Regions from separate parts of the Homo sapiens genome. Here all the other regions are linked to region 1. The links are contacts of gene promoters, found by promoter capture Hi-C in blood cells and fetal thymus (Javierre and others, 2016). All regions are on one chromosome and are shown on one strand. Each heading gives the region's core, a stretch centred on a gene start or on the middle of the fragment in contact. The rest is flanking DNA. Distances are from core to core; before and after follow the strand shown. Region 1 holds the start of PTPN18 (protein tyrosine phosphatase non-receptor type 18). Region 2 overlaps HS6ST1 (heparan sulfate 6-O-sulfotransferase 1). Region 3 has its middle 3.2 kb from the start of HS6ST1. Region 4 overlaps HS6ST1 (heparan sulfate 6-O-sulfotransferase 1).

What was found. The method cuts DNA at HindIII sites, captures the fragments that hold promoters and counts their contacts. A CHiCAGO score of 5 or more calls a contact.
Region 2: a contact is called between a fragment that was not itself captured here and the fragment with the promoter of PTPN18 in region 1, in 2 of 17 cell types (M0 macrophages and total B cells). The highest score is 10.1, in M0 macrophages.
Region 3: a contact is called between a fragment that was not itself captured here and the fragment with the promoter of PTPN18 in region 1, in 8 of 17 cell types (total B cells, non-activated CD4 T cells, naive CD4 T cells and 5 more). The highest score is 13.4, in total B cells.
Region 4: a contact is called between a fragment that was not itself captured here and the fragment with the promoter of PTPN18 in region 1, in 2 of 17 cell types (M0 macrophages and total CD4 T cells). The highest score is 8.4, in M0 macrophages.

The regions. Positions count from the first base shown.
Region 1 is chr2:130,354,750-130,357,449 of GRCh38, reverse strand. PTPN18 (protein tyrosine phosphatase non-receptor type 18) reads right to left here and starts at 1,394. Exons shown (of 15, transcript NM_014369.4): 1 at 1,250-1,394. The coding sequence starts at 1,342. RefSeq lists silencers at 955-1,004, 1,145-1,814. The HindIII fragment of the contact is 15,291 bases long and covers 1-2,700 here.
Region 2 is chr2:128,303,956-128,306,655 of GRCh38, reverse strand. All of the region lies in intron 1 of HS6ST1 (heparan sulfate 6-O-sulfotransferase 1), which reads left to right. Among named protein-coding and RNA genes, the nearest start is that of HS6ST1, 14 kb to the left of the region's middle. The HindIII fragment of the contact is 2,947 bases long and covers 1-2,700 here.
Region 3 is chr2:128,320,693-128,323,392 of GRCh38, reverse strand. No RefSeq gene overlaps it. Among named protein-coding and RNA genes, the nearest start is that of HS6ST1, 3.2 kb to the right of the region's middle. RefSeq lists an enhancer at 1-490 and silencers at 957-1,166, 1,207-1,526. The HindIII fragment of the contact is 3,262 bases long and covers 1-2,700 here.
Region 4 is chr2:128,286,523-128,289,227 of GRCh38, reverse strand. The region is part of intron 1 of HS6ST1 (heparan sulfate 6-O-sulfotransferase 1); the gene reads left to right. Among named protein-coding and RNA genes, the nearest start is that of HS6ST1, 31 kb to the left of the region's middle. RefSeq lists an enhancer at 566-1,395. The HindIII fragment of the contact is 1,488 bases long and covers 712-2,199 here.

The DNA of each region.
Region 1 (2,700 bases), core at 145-2,644:
AACGGTCATTTATAATACTTTTATATATTTGTCATATTTCTAAACTTGATACATGTCACCATATATCAGTTTATGCGTTTGTATGGTATGTTTCTATGTCTGGTACATAAGCGATTACACTTTAAACACGTCATCAACTGTAATGTACAGTGCCTAGCATTCTGCGTGAGCCTTCCTAATGCTGGGCTTGCACTACCTGTATTGTAACGTTTAGATTTTTTGTTTGGTTTTGTTTTGTTTGAGATGGGATCTCACTCTGTGGCCCAGGCTGGAGTGCAGTGGCACCATCTCAGCTGTGCAGTGGAACCATCTCAGCTCACTGCAACCTCTGCCTCCCAGGTTCAAGCGAGTCCCCTGTCTCTGCTCCCTAGTAGCTGGGATTACAGGCATGCGCCCATGCCCAGTTGATTTTTGTATTTTTAGTAGAGACGGGGTTTCGCTGTGTTGCCCAGGCTGGTCTCGAACTCCTGAGCTCAAGCGATCCTCCCACCTCGGCCTCCCAAAGTGCTGGGATTACAGGTGTGAGCCACCGCACCTGGCCCACGTTTAGAATCTTTATAGGCAGTGACGAACGCCCCTACGAAGTGTGCGCCCAATATGTACTAAGTGCTTTTCACCCACATCATTTAATCCTTAGACCAGTTTGGTCATTCATGTCCCCATTTCACCAAGGGAGAAGCCGAGGTCAGAGGGGCCAGGTAGACCGCCTGGACCACACGCGGATGGCCGGGACGCGGATTCGGGACGGGAAGCGGATTCGGGCCCGGACGCGGATTCGAGCCCGGCGTTCACACCCTCACCACGCCACAGCCTCCGTGTTCCTCTTCGCCCTGCTGCAGCCCCTTCCTTCCTGTGGTCACAGGGGACAGTCAGGTCGCCAGAAGCGGCGGGGCCGGGGCTGTCCAGCGCAGCAGGGCCGCCCGCCCTCCCCTGCGGCGCCCGCCCCACCTGTCCCGCCCGCAGCCAGGTTGTTCCGGGAGCGCGACGAGGACACCGGGAACGAGGGTGTGCACGGTCCGTCCCGGCCTGGCCGTGGACGTCGCGCTCCGGGGCCGGGGGGCAGAGAGTGAAGACGGAGACAGCAAGAGCGACAGAGAAGTGCTGGGGAGAGAAACACGGAGAGACCCCCCGAGGCGGGGAGACACCGGGGACACCGAGACAGAAAGGCAGAGCCCGCCGTGCGCGGAGGACAGGCGTACGCAGGGCCAGGGCCGGGGCGCGCCGCTCGCGGACCCCGTGTGCCACTCACGCTGAACTCGCCGGCGAGGACTGCCCCCTCCCGGCCGCCCCGCGCTTCCAGCCGCTCCAGGAAGCTCCGCGCCGAGTCCAGGCTGCGGCTCATGGCGCCGCGGGCCAGCAAGGTCCAGCCCGGCCGCCGCGCGCGCGGCGAGTGTGGACGCCGCGGGAGGCGGAGGCCGGTGACTGAGTCCCCGCCCTTGCCTCGGCAGCCAATGGAAGCGCGCAGCGGCGGGCAGGGCGCCCCAGCCACCGTGTTCTGAGCCCGCGTAGCCCCACCCCGGGCGCTCGGGCCGCTGTGGCCGGAGCCCTAGGTCCTCGCGGGCTGCCCTGAGCAGAGTCCAGCGCCGGCGCTTCCCCTTTTTTTCGGCTGCCGCGCCCACTGGTGGGGGGGTGGCACGGTCCCAGGTTCGCTCCCTGCCGCTTGGGACCCGCCCTCAGATCGGGATCCGCGCCCAGGGGCCGACCTCCGGGTGCCGGCTCTGGGTGGACGGCCGAGCGGTCTCGCCGGGCCCTCCCGCCCGTCCCCTGGGAGCCAGGCCGCGCGGAGTCCGAGCTGGGGCGGGCAGCAGCCTTGGGTGGAGACGGTCGCCGAGATCAGGCTGCCCCTCGTGCCAGAGGACCCCGGGTCGGGGGCGTCCCGCGCTGTGCGCTCCAGCCGGGCCCAAGGGAGGCCGGGGAGGGGCAGCCACGCCGTGGGAAAGGCCAAGTGGCAGCGGGATCTTCTCTGTGTATTTCCCGAGGAATTTGTGGTTCCTTTTTCCCGGATGCGCTGGGGCACCAGGGTCAGTCCTGTGTGAGCATCTCGACCTGCACAAGCCTGCTGGGAAACAGAACTGAGGCACTGGAAGTGGGTTCTGGGGAACGAAGAGCTTCTCTTTTTTGCCTGCCCTGACACTCCCATCTTCAGAAAGTGTGCAGAGGTCAGAGGAGAGCCGCCGTTCCAGCTTCCGGGATCACCGAGGGGAGGCTGGAGAGAATGGACTGGCACCTGGGTCTCTTCAAGGACAGGCCTAGGTTAGCCCCCTTCTCGCCGAGGTCGGAAGAATTAAGAGGGGTGTCACTGGAAGGGGCGTCAGTGGACACCAGTTTGAGGTCGTTGAGGGGTTGAAAGGTAGCATTGGGGCCTGGATGTGTGCCTGAGTCTCTGAAGGGTCAACAGGGGCATGATGTCAGGTGGTCAATTTAATTCACTAGGGGCTATCAGAGTATTTAAGGGCACACTTTCTTAAAGGTCCCGGTAGGAAGTGGTTTTGGCTTTGCTATCGCTGCCCCAGCTGCTTAACTCAGCTGTGGCAGCATGAAAGCAGACAATATAGTGTGGCTGTGTCCCAAAGAAACCATTTATGGACAAAGAAATCAGAATTTCATGTAATGTTCATGTGTCATGAATTATTCTAGTGTGTGTGTGTGGCCTACAGGCTGTCGTTTGCTGACCTTGGCTGAAGTGATGGAGCGATCAAA
Region 2 (2,700 bases), core at 102-2,601, 2.1 Mb after region 1:
ACTGGCTTGGGACAGAAGGGCCTACACATCACCATCCACCTGAGAATTAGAAAGCGCCTTCTGCTGCAGGGCTTGCAGGAACAAATGTTTACAGCCCCTAGGCGGCAGGGGGAGCATCTCCCCTCTGAGTTATGAGCTTTAGAGGCTCCTGTGTAAATATTTACCTCTCTAGAGCATTGGTGACCGTGGGAGATCGGGATCTGTAAGCACTGAGGTTTTCTGTTTGCGTCATCGTGGCCAGGGTGGGGTGGGGGTGTCGTCCTGGAGCAGGGAGCCAGGCTGTGGAGCGTGCAGCTGCGTTCTCCCTGGAATCCTGGTCCACATTCCCTGGCAGAGAAATCTTCGCAGCGGCGCGGCCACGTCCTCCAGCCCGACCACAGTTGATGGAGGGAAAGCCAGGGAAGGCACTGTCCTGTGGAGTGACACCAGCGTGCTAGCCCTGCTGAGGAGCGGAGGCACAAAGGAGGGCATTCCTGTCCCGAGGGTGCAGTCTGGGAGCAGGGAGGGGCTGTGACAGTCTCATTCAGGCCTCACTGTCAGGGGCGCTGTTTTGCAGATGAGTAAACTGAGACTCAAAGAGCCTAAATAACTCATCACCTAAGGTCACCGGTGGCAGAGCTGGGATTCACACACAGGCCTGTGCCTGCAGGATTTCCCCCAAACTCCTCCCAGTGACAAGTCGCAGGCAGGTCACTCCCCAGAGTGGGGGAGCCAGGCGTGTGGCTCATGTCCGCCACAGTGCCTGCCTCTGGGAGGGTAACGCAGCTGCTCTGCGAGCAGGTGGGCTCGCCAGGGAGTCCAGGATGGTGCAGGGAACCTGGGCAGGTCCTGAGGGACTGCTGGCCCACCCTCCTCAAGGTCCAGCTGAATGAGTGGCCTGCTGGAAGCAGCTGTCACCAGGTGTGATGCTTCAGCTCCCCTGAGAGGATCAAGGGCAGGCAGAGCAGATGGTCTCCCGGGGGAGTTGAGAGGGTTGTGATGTCACCCGTAAGGAGAGGCTCTGCCCAGGCACTAAGCCGGGGAGAAGGTAGGCCCCAGAGTGAGAGTGGGTTCCAGCTCTGCCTGGAGAACAAGGGCCTCAGCCAGCCGGGCTCCAACCCTTGCCACAGCCTCCTTCCTTCCCGCCCACTGCAGACCCCAGGGCTCCCGGTTGGAGGGGCTCGGCCCCTCCTCTTCTGCCTCTGTTCCCTCCTGGCAGGCAGGAAGGTGAGCAGGTCTGAGCAGTTGGTTTAGCTCACGCAAGTCCAGGCAGGGCCGCTTGTCGGCACACGTCCTGAACCCTGCAAAAGTTCAGGCCTCCCAAGTCATGCTTTAAAACTGTCCAAGCAGGCCCATCGGGAAGCCAGGCCCAGCAAGGAGGGGTTTGTTACTCTGCTTTCCTGGAAGCTGGGCTGGCAACGTTCCCAGCAGAGAACATCATTCTTACAAAGTAGAGGGGTGTCAGGTTTCAGCCAAGTGGGTAAAAGGCAGGTATTGGGATTGGTGTGGCTGTTCCAGGACAGGAGCAAACCCCCATCCTTCAGCAAGTGGGTCAAATGGGGACCCAGGCAGGCAATGGGTCAGGCCAGCAAAGGCTGGAGAATCCAGAATGGAGAGCTTAGGAGGCCCTCATAGCAGGGAGCTGCCTCCTGCATGACACTGACCCTGTGCATTCCACACAGATCACAGGCACTGCCCTGGGCCACCAGGAAGGCCCTGGGGACCATGTTCCATGGGTTGCCACAGAGCCAGGGGATGATGGCCTGCAAGTGTGTGTGGGTGCTCAGTCACCCGCCCTCCCCAGTGCAGCCCAGCCCAGCTGCAGGAGAGGAAGGTAGCCATTCCTGAGTGTCATGAGATGCTGAGTGCTCCAGGGTGGGTCCTCTCACTGACCCAGTGAGGGCTGCCACTGCTGTGCGACACTGCTGTGAGCACTCTGATGGGACACAGTGTCACTGTCCCTGTTCTCTGGTACATGGGTGCCTCCATATCTTCCCAGTGGCAGAGGGTTTTTGGCCAGCATCTGACTACAGCGGCTGTGTGCATTGCTGCAGTGCTGGGCTCTCCCGAGAGGGGACCCACGGGCAGAGGTCACCAGCCAACCCAGGGACCTTTCTGGAGTCCTGTGCAGCTGTCCATTAGCAAGGCAGCCTCCGAGGGATGCCAGGGCCTTACAGTCTGTGACAGGTACTTGTTTCGTCCTCCTGCCCCTTAGCCAAAGACAGCTTAGTGCCCAGGCAGTGGTCCTGGTCCTGAGGGGCTAGAGGCCCTCCTCTCACCAGGCCTGTACCATGCACCATCTCTGTCCCTGGGGAGCACCCACACAGGGAGACCCAGTTTCTAAAGGCTCGGACACACTTCAAGAGGACGAGCATGGCTGGCAGCATCCCCCAGCGTAGGGGTCGGGGAGGGGGAGCTATATTAGGGTTCTCCAGAGGGACAGAACTTATAGGATATATAGAGACAGGTGAAAGAGGATTTATTGGGGGAATAGGCTTATGCAATTAGGGAGACTAAGATGACCCGAGATCTGCCATCTGCAAGCTGGAGAACCAGGGAAGCCAGCGAGCAGGCTTAGTCCAAGGCCAAAGGCCTGAGAACCTGGGGGCTGTGGTGTTAGGTCCCAGAGCCCAAAGGCCCGAGAACCTGGAGTTCTGATGTCCAAGGGCAAGAAGATGAGTGTCCCAGCTCCAGAAGAGAGAGGAGATTCACCCTTCCTCC
Region 3 (2,700 bases), core at 126-2,625, 2.0 Mb after region 1:
GGAGGGCACTGACCATGCCCTTCTAGGCATCAGGGCCCAGGACTGAGGCCACCTTCTTCCACCTGTGCCCCGGCCCCTGGTGGCTTAGGCAGCTGGGGTGGGAGCAGCAAGCACCCCATGGTTGAGTGACTTTTCTCGGACTAGAACATTTCACCCTCAAAAGAGCCGCCATCCACCCCACCCCACCCCCAGGGAACATCCCCAACAGTGGAGCTTGTCAAGCTGCTCAGTGCCCTCTCTGGTGGCTCCCCCGACCCGGCCGAGTCGGAACCCCTCTGGGCAGTGAATGACAGCCATCTGGGAGGAGACCCACTGGCCACCGGAAGCTGCGAGCAGTCACCCCCCACCCCATCCAGGCTGTGATCCCGCCTCCACCCTAGTCGTCTAAAGACATGTCCCTTGGGAAGTTTCAAGCAGAAGAACCAGGACGATGCCCTTGGGGCAACGTTACCAGGTCCCTGTCCTGCCTCCCAAGCTGGCAGAACCCGCCAGGCCTGCCCACAGTCCCGCTGCCCGGGGAGGAGGGTGGGCTCCACTGGACAGACTCCGAATCCCGGCCAGGCAGCAGTCCAAGCCCCCCACTTGCCAACAACCCCACGTCACACGCGAGGGCAGGGGGCCAGCCAGGGGGAGGTCACCGAGCCAGCAGGGCGGGGGGGGCGGGCAAGGGCCGGGGAAGCCCAGGACCACGCTGCCCCTACGAATTGCTCAGGTTCTCCTCTTCTGTTTATCCTACCCTCTTCCCCTAAGGACTGAAGCGGGCCTGGAGGGCCTAGAGAAAGGGCACAAAGAACAGCGAGGCCCTGGGCGGGCGTGGAGGGAGGGGAATGGCCCTTCCGAAGCCCCGGGCCTCTTCCAGCGCGGTCCTCGAACCGAACCGCAGGACCCCTGCTGTCCCCGGGCAGCGGCCGGAGCGCGTCCCTCGGGTCCTGGGAAGACCTGCCGCGTCTGCGGGCTGCCTGGGAGCCCAGGCGCCCCGCGGTGCTGGGGGAGGAGCCCGGCACGGGGCCGCTGGGCGGCAAAGGGGCCGCGGGCTCCCTGGAGGAGGCGGCTGCGGACGGGGCCTGGCGACCTCGGAGAAGGTGGCGTCCACGGCGCGCAGCCCGGCGCCCCAAGCCTGCCGCCGGGTCGGGGTCGGGGCCGGGGCCGGGCCCCGCGGGTCCGCGCGAGCCGGAGTCCCCTCTAAAAGTTTGTCCCCAAACGAAACCCCTCTCTCTGCCCCGCGTGGGCAGCGGGGCCAGCCCCACGGGAGGCTCTGAGGACAGACACGACTGCCCTCCTCCACCCCTTGGCAAACAACAATGGGCGGCCGCCGGACGAACGACGAGGGAAGCGAGTGTGGAAAATCCCCCAATTTTTTGCAAAGTCAACCGCGGGCGCTCGGGGGCCGGGCCGCGTGCTGCCCCCGCGCGGCCGTCCGCGGGACTGTGCGCCGGGAGGGGGCGCCGCTGTTGATCTCGTGGTTCTCAGACTCTGAGACCGCACGGTGGGCCGGGAATGAGGCTTCATTCCTGAAGCCGAATGTTAATGCCTCTTCTGGGATCATCACAGCCTGCCACTAAGCCGTGTTCTTTTACTTTTCTTTGCCATTAAGTCAGAGATCACGCATTAAAGAATTGGTGAAGTGGATCTTCAGGGGACAAAGCCACTGAGCAGAAGAGCTGCCAGTGCTTTTCCTTGGACCCCACAAGCAGTCAGGGCCAGAAGCTGCCCCTAGCAAACACTTAGCTCATATGCACTCTCGGGGCTGGGGCAAACCTTGGCCACGCAGGAGATCACCCAGGGAAGAAAGGAAACAGCGCGCAGAGCGCGCCTCCTGAGACCCTGGCTGTGTCCGCTGACCTCCTGGAACCCCACGCCAGCCCCAGACTGTGCGTTTCTATCCATTTTCCAAGACATGACACTGAGGACTCATCGCGGGGAGTAGCGGGAAGTGGTGGGGAGTAGCGTGATGCAAGCTGCCCCGCCAACGAGGGCTCGAGCTGCCTTCCACTCGGCTCAAGTGTCCACTGATTGATGGGTGGCTCATCTGACTTGACTTTCAGAGCCCAGAAACTCACCTACAGCCTTAGGGTCTCAGGTGCCTGTGCAGGGCTTCAATCAAAGTGGAAGACTGAGCAAAGTCCTGTAGCCAGCCAGGCAGATTTCCCTCCTCTTAAAAGAATTCTAGAAAGAAAGGGCTTCCTGGCTAATGTGAGTGCTTCCCATCAGCCAGTGTGGCAGGTATGAAGTTGGATTAAATAGCTTGTTCTGGGAGATGTTGCTCCATGGGTCAGGCTGCTCTGGCTCCCATTCAAGGGTGGGACCTTATCACAGGCACTTCGTCCCTGCCTGGGCCTCAGTTTCCCCCTTGGGACAGTGAGATCATCACAGGGTGGAGCCATGGCCCAAGTACCGATGGCTTCGTTGGCCTTCGGAGCTGCTCCAGCTTTCCCTTGAACACTCTGGGCCCACGTTCCCCCTTGGTGGCAGTGACGGTCACCAGGCTCTCAGGAGTGGCCCCTGTAGACGCTCTCATCCCTGGCCTAGGGAGCTGGGGCAAGTGCAGAGGTGGGGAAGGGGAGGGTTCTGGGGCTCACAGCAGGAATCAGGATCCCAGCTCTGCTGACTCTCATGGGGTGAGAGTGGTTGACCTTGGAACCAGGGTCTTAACCCCTTTGAACCTCAGTTTTCTCTTCTGTAAATGGATATCACAGCCTA
Region 4 (2,705 bases), core at 206-2,705, 2.1 Mb after region 1:
CAGTGCATCACCCGGAGCTGTCGCCCTCCTTGTAAGTAGAGCCAGGGCCATGGGAGTATAGAGTTGGATACTGCAGTTAGCTTGGGCACAGAATGGCTTATCTCTGGGGTGGGCTGTTTAGGCTCTGAATTTCCCTGTCTGGGGAAGAATAGTCTACATTCAAGAGCATGCAAGGCCATCTCTCCGCGGCCGCCTCTGTGTTTATATGGACTCGGGGGTTGAGGGAGCAGGTGTCAGCCCCTCTTCGCTGCAGAGAGGCTCTGTGGGGTCGTGGGTGAGAACCAGGACTTTGCCTCGGACCCTGACATGAGTTGCTGTGGGGTCAGCAGGAGGTGGAGCCTGGAGGGGTCCCAGGGACACCCCCAGTGATCCTCAGATGAGCTCTCGCCCTCCTGACCCCGAGAAAGGCTGATTACTGGTGATGATCCTGTGGCTTTGGAGATGTCCTGAGAGGCTGCTGGGGAGGCCCTGAGCCTCCCAGGCCTCCCTGACTCTCCTACCTCCTGTGAGAAAGTCAGATTAGATTGTTTTGTTTGTTTGTTTGTTTTCTAATACATGCATGGTTATATAAAATCGGAAAAATACAGAAAAAGTAAAAGAAAAAATGGCCCAGGGCACTAGGCCCAGGGCACCTGGCGCGGGTTGCATTTCTGCTCCATCTCTCCAGTTGATGTGTTTTCCAGAGTTGGCATCAGGCTGTACCCACAAGCTTTGATGTGGCTCTTTTGCCCATTGTGCACACAGATATGAGCTTCTGTGTTAATGCAGAGTCCCCAGAAGGGCTGTGCTTTTCTACTGCCATGGAGTCACCGGGCGTAGGTATCAAGTCGTGCTGGCTGGCCTCAGGGCCCTGAGCACTTTCTCACCTGGCAGGGACAGTTTCATAGCAGGGTACAAATACTGCACACCCCGGCAGGACCTGACGCTGCCGCCAGCCTCCCTCTCGGGCCTCCACGTCTCTCTTGGTGGGCCCAAGCAGCCATGGTGGATGTGTAGTTACAGGCTGTAAGGAAGAGGAAGGGCCACGTGAGTCCTCGCAATAGCCTCAGCAAAAGGCCTAGAAGCAGAAGGAGTGAGCCCCAGAGCTCTTGGCCAGGACAAGAGGAGGCCATGGCTCTGGAGACAGGTCTCAGGCCGAGCCAGCCCGCCCCTAGTCAGCTGCCCTGCTGCTCGACTGCGTGCCCTGTGAAGAAGCAGGGCACTGTCACCTTCTCCTGACCCCAAGGTATGAGTGTGTGCGTTCAGGCATAAGTGACATCTCGCCTGCCGGTGTCAGAAGCCAGAAAGTGCCAGGCAGGCAGGTGTGAAATATGAATGGGCAGCCTTCATGACCGGCGAGCAGCCCCGCAGGGCCCTCATGGCCTTGCTGGAGCCCTGCCTTGGAGCAGCAGGCAGGAGAGTCTGAAGGGCAGTGGGACACAGGTGAGGAGGTGGTCCTCACCCCTTCTGCTCATGGAAGACCTCGGCAGAGCCCCATTCCAGGTGTCCAGTCAGCAGCATCTGGGCCCGGGCTGCTCACAGCCATGCTGGGCTTTTGGACAGGGTCAAGCTCCCAGAAAGCCATCCGCCTGTTCTCCCCTCATTGAAGAGGGCTGGTGCAGAGCACCCCTGGACCCGGCGTCTCTAGCTGGCCCTGCTGGGAGGACATTGTCAGCACCTCCTCTTGTGGCCCCTACCCTGGGGGTGACTTCTAGGACCTCCAGAAGTCACAGCCTTACCTGACACCTGCTAGGTGGAGGCAGTCCTAAGCCTCACATCCCGGCTCTCTGCCCAGTTCTCTGTGCACCCCCACTTCAGTGCTGTTGGAGAAGCAGCCCGTCAGGGGACCTGCTGGGGGTCTCGTTCACCCTCACTGAGTAGGGGGGGCAGCTGTCCCTGCCCACAGCTGGGCAGTGCATCTCAGGGGAAGGGGCCTCACCTGCACCTTCTCTGGGGGAGTGCCCTGGGCCCTGGATATATCCACTGAGGTGCTCTTGCAGGGGGACTGCCCTGGTCAGGAATGGGAGTGACCATTCCTGGGACCAGGAGGGGTTGGGCGCTTCCTTCCCATCAGTGCCTTTGTGGAGGTGTGGCGGGTGTGGCCTGCATGGCACCCCACAGTGTGTGTCCACCTGATGGCTAAGCCACCCCCTGCCCCAGAGGGTTCCTTGTCAGGGCGCAATGAGATCATGCAGGTCAGGGGGCTTTGAAGGAAAAGCTTTGGGCTTCCCCCAGTGTGGGGCCTCTGCTTCCTGGTCACTTGCTCCCCGACCACCCCAAGGGGAAGGTGGGAGTCTCAGGCTCCTAGGAGGCATTCAGAGGGGCCTCCTGCTTTGGGGGATGCTGTTCCCCAGGCAACCAGGTGGGGCCTTGGTTTCTCTATCTGGGTGGGCACAGCTTTGCAGGAGGCAAGGCGTATCGTGGCCAGCAGCCTGCTCTGTTTTCTGAAACCTTTGCTGACCTTGTTTGTAAAGCCAGCAAAGATTTTCACCCGCTTGCAGACGTTGTTAGGGAAGGGGCTGAGGAGGTATTTCCTAAACCTACGCTAATAAAGCCTCTTGTTTTTTATTTTTTAACAAGTCAGTATTTTGACACAAGGTCAGAAGTTTTCCTTTTTCCCACCATTTAATAGCAGTGTCCTGTCCTTGAAACCATGAACTCATTTCCTCTTCTGACCAACCCGTGCATTTGGATGGCCTGCAAAGCCTGGGCGTGCAGTGCAAGCT